2 separate regions of the Homo sapiens genome follow, and region 2 is linked to region 1. Evidence: promoter capture Hi-C in 16 types of primary human blood cells and fetal thymus (Javierre and others, 2016). All regions are on one chromosome and are shown on one strand. The core of a region is centred on a gene start or on the middle of the fragment in contact, and the rest is flanking DNA. Distances in the headings are between cores, read along the strand shown.

The links. The method cuts DNA at HindIII sites, captures the fragments that hold promoters and counts their contacts. A CHiCAGO score of 5 or more calls a contact.
Region 2: a fragment that was not itself captured here is called in contact with the fragment with the promoter of CDC37L1 in region 1 in 1 of 17 cell types (naive CD4 T cells); the score reaches 5.3 in naive CD4 T cells.

The regions. Positions count from the first base shown.
Region 1 is chr9:4,677,906-4,681,065 of GRCh38, reverse strand. It overlaps CDC37L1 (cell division cycle 37 like 1, HSP90 cochaperone), which reads right to left and starts at 1,497. Exons shown (of 7, transcript NM_017913.4): 1 at 1,167-1,497. The coding sequence starts at 1,298. It overlaps CDC37L1-DT (CDC37L1 divergent transcript), which reads left to right and starts at 1,586. Exons shown (of 2, transcript NR_121598.1): 1 at 1,586-1,679. RefSeq lists an enhancer at 1,274-1,363. The HindIII fragment of the contact is 3,086 bases long and covers 1-2,841 here.
Region 2 is chr9:3,477,138-3,480,297 of GRCh38, reverse strand. The region is part of intron 1 of RFX3 (regulatory factor X3); the gene reads left to right. Among named protein-coding and RNA genes, the nearest start is that of RFX3, 47 kb to the left of the region's middle. RefSeq lists enhancers at 1,756-1,805, 828-2,027. The HindIII fragment of the contact is 301 bases long and covers 1,397-1,697 here.

The DNA.
Region 1 (3,160 bases), core at 248-2,747:
AAAATTAGTGGGTGACTAATGATGGACCCATCAACTCTCATTCTGTCCTCCTAAAAAATGTCTTGTAGTTCCCCAGTGACTTAGCTGGCCAAAGTACAGACAGTGGTTATGAAACAGCATTTTTCTCTGTGTGAAGCCAACTAACCCTGTTAGCTGGACATAAGATTGATAATGTCACGCTTACTGGTAAGCAATTTAACTCATTCTCATTAACATCTAGCAAAATAAGTTGAGAGGAAAACTACTATTAAATCTGTTACACTCTTGGGAACCCCATTTTGCAAGAAGGCGGCAGACACTTATGATCCATTGAATATATTAGTGTTTAGTCTGTGATTCTGAAATATACTTCCAAAACACACACGGATTCGGAGAAAAAAACAGGACAAGGTGATGCGAGTATGTAAGTATCCCCTAAGATAGGTCCCTGAAAAATCCTTAATAGTATATCACATTTGGATACGTTTCAGTCGCAGGAAGGCAGGAATGCTGGATTGAAAACACAATACCAGGAACCTAAGAGAAGTCTGAAGGAAAACACAAGTATATGCGTATATATTTTCACTGGAGAATGACGTGAAGCAAAACTAAAAAACAAAACAGTAAGGCAAAGATGGTCACGCGAATGGGAGAGGTGTACGCCAGCGTCAAAAGCGAGATTTAAAGAATTTACTCAGTTGTCAACATCGGTGAAAATCGCATGTGAAATCTTTGTCAGGACTCAGTGTGATGCTGAACTACAATCATTCACTGTTCCTAGCAACTGTGCACAAGTATGCTAGAGCCTTTAACAGAATAAAGTGCTTGGGGAAAACCTCTCACAAGAGGACAAAGGGTCAATGTTACAGCATGAGCCGCCCCAAATCTGAGTGCTGTCAGGAAGGGGAGATGGAGGAAGGTATTCCAAGAGTGAACAGGAATCAGCCAAGGCGAAAGAAAACATGTGCGTGGAGGTGGAGGTTGGTAATATATGGCCACCCCGTCTGCCCTCCGAAGATGCCATAAAAGGGGTGGGATGGCATCAGGCGTCAGGTCCCAGGTCCCCGGCCCCTGGCAGTGAGGTGGGCGTAGAAAAAGGCGTAGAAGAGGGTCTGGGAGACGCGGCATTCCAGGGGTTTGGCGACAGCACCACTCCATCCCTCCGCAGAACGCAGGCCCCTTCTCACCTGGGCGCCGCCGCCTGGCAGCTGCGGGCAGCGGGGAGAACTGGGGAACACGTCGAAGTCACTCTCTTCCTCAGCCTCACCCTCGGCCCGAGGGAGGCTCCAGGGTCCCGGAGGCGGCCACGGTTGTTCCATGTCCGGCTGCTCCGGGTCCTACAACCGCCCTTGGCCCTACAACTGCCACTGCCAACAGACTTGGCGTGAATGGAACCTGCTGCGCCGAGCCAGAAGCCCAGCCGGGGGTCCGGGCCGTTACCCAGAATCCCTCTACTGGCCGCGACGCCGCTGCACACCCGGCGACAGCCTGGGCCTCGCCACCGGCGGACGGCGGAAGAAATAGTCGGCGCGGTGCGTCACTTCCGGTTGGGGCGGGGCTGTGGAGGCGCGTCCCGGGCCCTTTGCGTGTAGTGGGTGGATCTGCAATTGTATTCCTGTTTCAAGCCCCGTTTTCTTGCAGCTCTTCGGCACTGCAAACCTAACCGCTAATGGCGCTGTGGGTGGAGAAACGTTTGTTAGGTAGCGTTATATATTGTTATCTGGTGTTCCCTATACCGAAAACGGCGGGTCCTGGCCGCCGGGAGGTACTCAGACCAGGTGTGCACTTTACATGTTGCTTAAAAATTGCAACTCATTCCTTTACATTGACATTTAAACCAGTGATTCTAAGGCAGAGTTGGGGCGGAGGGAGGAGAATTTTGAACAAGCGGAGCCAATTTTCGTCTCATTTCTAATTACAGGCAACAACAGAATTCTGCGAAACTTGGTTGGTTGGAGGAGCACACCAAAAATAAAGTACCGGAGCCGGCACGGCTTCAAAAAAATTAGGATCAGTACCGCTAGTAGCGAACGCATAAGAAGGGCTTCCTGTATGCCTGCGTATCTTGTTTAAGCCTAAAGATATGTACTCTCTTTATCCTCTTTTTTTGAGACGAGGAAGTAGACCCAGCATGCCCGAGATCACACATTTTACAAGGAAGAAGTAGGATCCAGACCCAGGGAGTTTAACTTCAAAACTTGAACGTTTAACAATCAGGTCTTGCTGCCCTACTCATAAAGAGACCCAAATAAAAACAACATGACGCCATTTTTTTCCATGTGTTTAGACTGGCAAACTTGTGAAGTCGCTTAATACCAAATGTGTACCAAGATGTAAGGAAATGATGTGAGAATGTCATTAGTATAACCTTTTAGGAGGAGTAATTTGACAATATGAGAGGCTTGAGCGGATTGATTCAGCAATTTCACCACTAAGAAAGTATGCAACAATTATTTTTGCACCAATATCCAAAGATTTACTACAAAGATTTCTGGCAGCAATTTTTGTGTGTGTGTGGCAAGAAAAAAAAAAGCATTCTAATTGTCCATCGATAGAGGAACTTAAAGTATGGAATATTAATACAATGGCATATTACCCTTTTTAAAAAAAGTAAATTGTATCTGAATATGCTGATATATAAATACCTCCAAAAGGTATTGAGTTTTAAACAAAGCAACTTGCAGAATTAAACATATGCGTACGTATACAGAGAGAGAAGAGAGAGGGATGGTATTTGTTTGCGTCCGTGTGTGTGTGTGTGTGTGTGTGTGTGTGTGTGTGTGTTTGCGCAGAACATTCCTGGAGGATATGCAAGAAACTGTTAATGATTACCTCTGGTGGGTGAGCCTAGGAAGGAAAGCTTCTGAGGATCTTTACTTTCCACATTTAGCTTCCCTGTACTGTGCTGTTTGAATATTTTTCCAATGAATGTATACTATAATTATAGTATTATAACAGTACAAGATTATAACAGTACAAGATTACTATAAAATTAATTACAAATAAAAGCTGAGAATCACTTTTGCACCTAAACCTTTTGAATTTAGGGGTGAAAGTCACAGGAGAGACTGGAAAGGGAGGAAGAAAAGAAAAACATTTTTCTCTTTGCTTCCATGAAGCCACAAAGTGCTTTGAATAGTGCCTGGCATAAAGTAAGCCCTATATAAACGCTAATGCTGTT
Region 2 (3,160 bases), core at 298-2,797, 1.2 Mb after region 1:
GAATTTCTGAGATTACATGGAGAGAGATGCTTAGCCATGCTAGTATCCTAGCTGATCTCATTTCTCACCTGCTGGCTGAAAGCAGTAGTATGAATGACCACCAGCAAGATGACTGTAAGAACTGCCTAGTTGAGCCCTGCTCAGATTGCAGAATTATGACCAAATAAAATGGTGGTTGTTGTGCCAGTAAGTTTTGGGGTGGTTTGTTACACAACAAAAGAAAAGCAAAAGAAACATGCGACAATATTCTTGAAAATAAAAGCCTTGCTAAAAGATGTTTACTTTTCTCGGCCTACCTTGACAGTTTTGGTCTTTCCTTGGCTTGCCAATACCAGCTAACAAAAGAGAAATAGTAATGAACAACTCTTTTCTCTTCCAGAAGCCCGCGATTTTGGCCTATACTTGGGTGAATCTGAGGTAAACTCAATCTCTGTTCTGAGTCTCTTCAGAGAAATCTCAAGAGATAGGGTTGCCTCCTAAGTCAAGTATCTGATTCTTCTTTTCTGTCGATTTCCCACTTCCAGTTTTCTGTGGTTTTAAAAAAATTTCTTACTATCAGAGTATAGTTGGTTTTGGCCTCAGTCAGCCAAGTAAGACAAGATGGACTAGGCTTTCCTCCTCACTTTTACTTGTTTCTGTTGTCCCCAAAAGATTTGAGAGGCCGTTTAGGACTGAGAGTGGCTCTGAGACCAGTAATCACCTTTGTTTTTGATGATTCACATATTAGTTAACAGGAAAGATGTGATAAATTGTTTATGCAGTTTATTTTTTCCTGTCTCACAGATCTGTTTCACTCTCATTTAAGTACTGAAATACAGATTTTTTTCATAAGTTTCTATTAGAGATAAGAATCAGTGATCTAAAAATTTTAAGTATATTTTTAAAAAATCAAACTAAGTGAGGGTTTGTTTTTTTTGGTTAAGATCTTTTTGTCCTGAAAATTATAAATTCAGAATATTACAGAACTTGATCAACTTCCAGAATGGTGGAGTGAGGGCCTCAGTGAATTTGTGCTGCCTATACAACAACAAAAATATGGGTAAAATAATGAAAATCAGCCATTTTAGAATTCTGGCAATTAAGCAGGAGTATGAATTGAAAATCATCTGTCCAAGAGAAAACTAGTGAATCTTGGGAAGACCAGTGGGGTCTGCGATATTTTAACTTGGGGTTATTCTCATCTCTCTCTCCAGCTTAGTGGTGTAGCTAAAAGCTGGCAGTATTGCAGACAATGGAGAGAGCTGACCACTTCTGGAGCCCCATTGAAGGCACTATCCCCAGAGCACAGTTAATATTTTGTCCCAACTTGCAGCTCCCTGGGAAAACTCTTTTCAGAGAGAGTGGCTGGATATTTGATTTGACTCTGAACTCAGCTCAGTTGGGGGAAGAAAAAGCTTACCCCCAGGGCATTACTGAAACAATAGCAAACTGTTGGCAAAATGTCAATTGCCTAAGGCTGTGATTTCAGTTGAGGCAAAGGAAGAATCTGGCCAGGAATTTAAAAGGAAAGTCTGGAGAACTAGCCAACTATAGGGAACTTTGGAAAGCTCTGGCATATTCCTGGGTATTTAAAAGGCTGTACAATGTGCAAGTCTGTACACATGCCCGGAAATGACCTGGGAAAGGAGAATGTCACCTCTGACTGATCTTGAGGCACTGTGTAAGCAGGAAGTGAAAATCAGTGCTATTTGTAAGCTTCCTGAAGTTTGAAGGTATGACTTCTCATGAAGATTTCTTTGGCAAAAGGTAGAAGACATATAGGCAAAGCATTTAAGGAAATCTTTTAAATGATCATTGGTTGACTACTACATTTTACTGGTCCAGGTATGACTTCTTGGAAGCCAGGCTTACAAATAAAAACAAGATCCTAAAAAAAAAAAAAAAAAAAGTTCTAGCAGAGAACTCGGTGGCCACACACTACGGGGAATACAGGATCTGTAAAATTCGTTCATGAAAGTACTAAAGAATCAGCATCAAGAAAAACAACACACTGATGATTAAAAAATTTAGGGGAATAATGTGGAGCAATCTGATATGAGATTTGTTAAAATATATTACCTAAAATGTTCAGTTTTAACAAAAATTGAGAAATGCAAAGAAACAGGAAATAAAACACACAGAGACAAATAATAAAAAACGAACAAAAAAAGTCCCTGTGGGAGCCTAGATTTTAGACTTTGTAGTCTTTAAGTTAGCTATTACAAATACATTCAAAGAACTAAATGAAACCATGTCTAAAGAATTAAAGGGAAGCATCAGAATGGTGTTTCACCAGAGAAAGAGTATCAATAAAGATAGAAATTATTAAAAAACAAGGAAGTTCTGGAGCTTAAAAGTATAATAACTGAAATGAAAAATTCACTAGAGGAGCTCAACAACAGATATAAATTGGCAAATGAAGGAATCTTTTAACTCGAAGTTAGGTCAATAGAGATTGTTCAATGTGAGGATCAGAAAGAAAAATGAACAGAGTCTCAAAAGACTTATGTGACTCCATTAAATGTTGTGCCAACATGGACATTATAGGATTCCCAGAAGATGAGAATGAGGCAGAAAGAATATTTAAAAAAAAATGGCAGAAAACTTTCCAAACTTGCTGAAAAATATTACTCTGTGCTACACATCCAAGAAGCTCACTGTAATCCAAGTTGAATAAGCCCAAAGTGATCCATACCTAGACCCATCATAGTTGAATTTAAAGAAAAATCTTGAAAGTAGCAGGAGAAAAATGACTTGTTACAAGGAATCCTCAATAGGCTTAATAGCTGACTTACGAGAAACCCTGGAGGCTAGAAGACATTTTCAACATTGAAAGTAAAAGACTGTCAACCAGTAATTCTCTATTTAGCTAAACTTTTCTTCAAAACTGAAAGTGAAATTAAGACGTTTCCAAATAGATAAAAACTGAAAGGATTCTCACGAACTCTAAGAAATGTTAAAGGGAGTCTTTCAGGTTGAAATGAAAGGACACTTAATGGTAAATTTTAATCCGTGTGAAGAAATAAAGAGGAATGGTTAAAGGTAACTACAGGCATTATGAAAGACATGTACAAATAGATTGAATAATAGATTGAAGTTTTTGTTAGGGATAGGCTCTAAATCCATGTCTTTTGTATAGTATAAATTGTGATTCTGTATTGGAATTATACTTTGCTGTCTG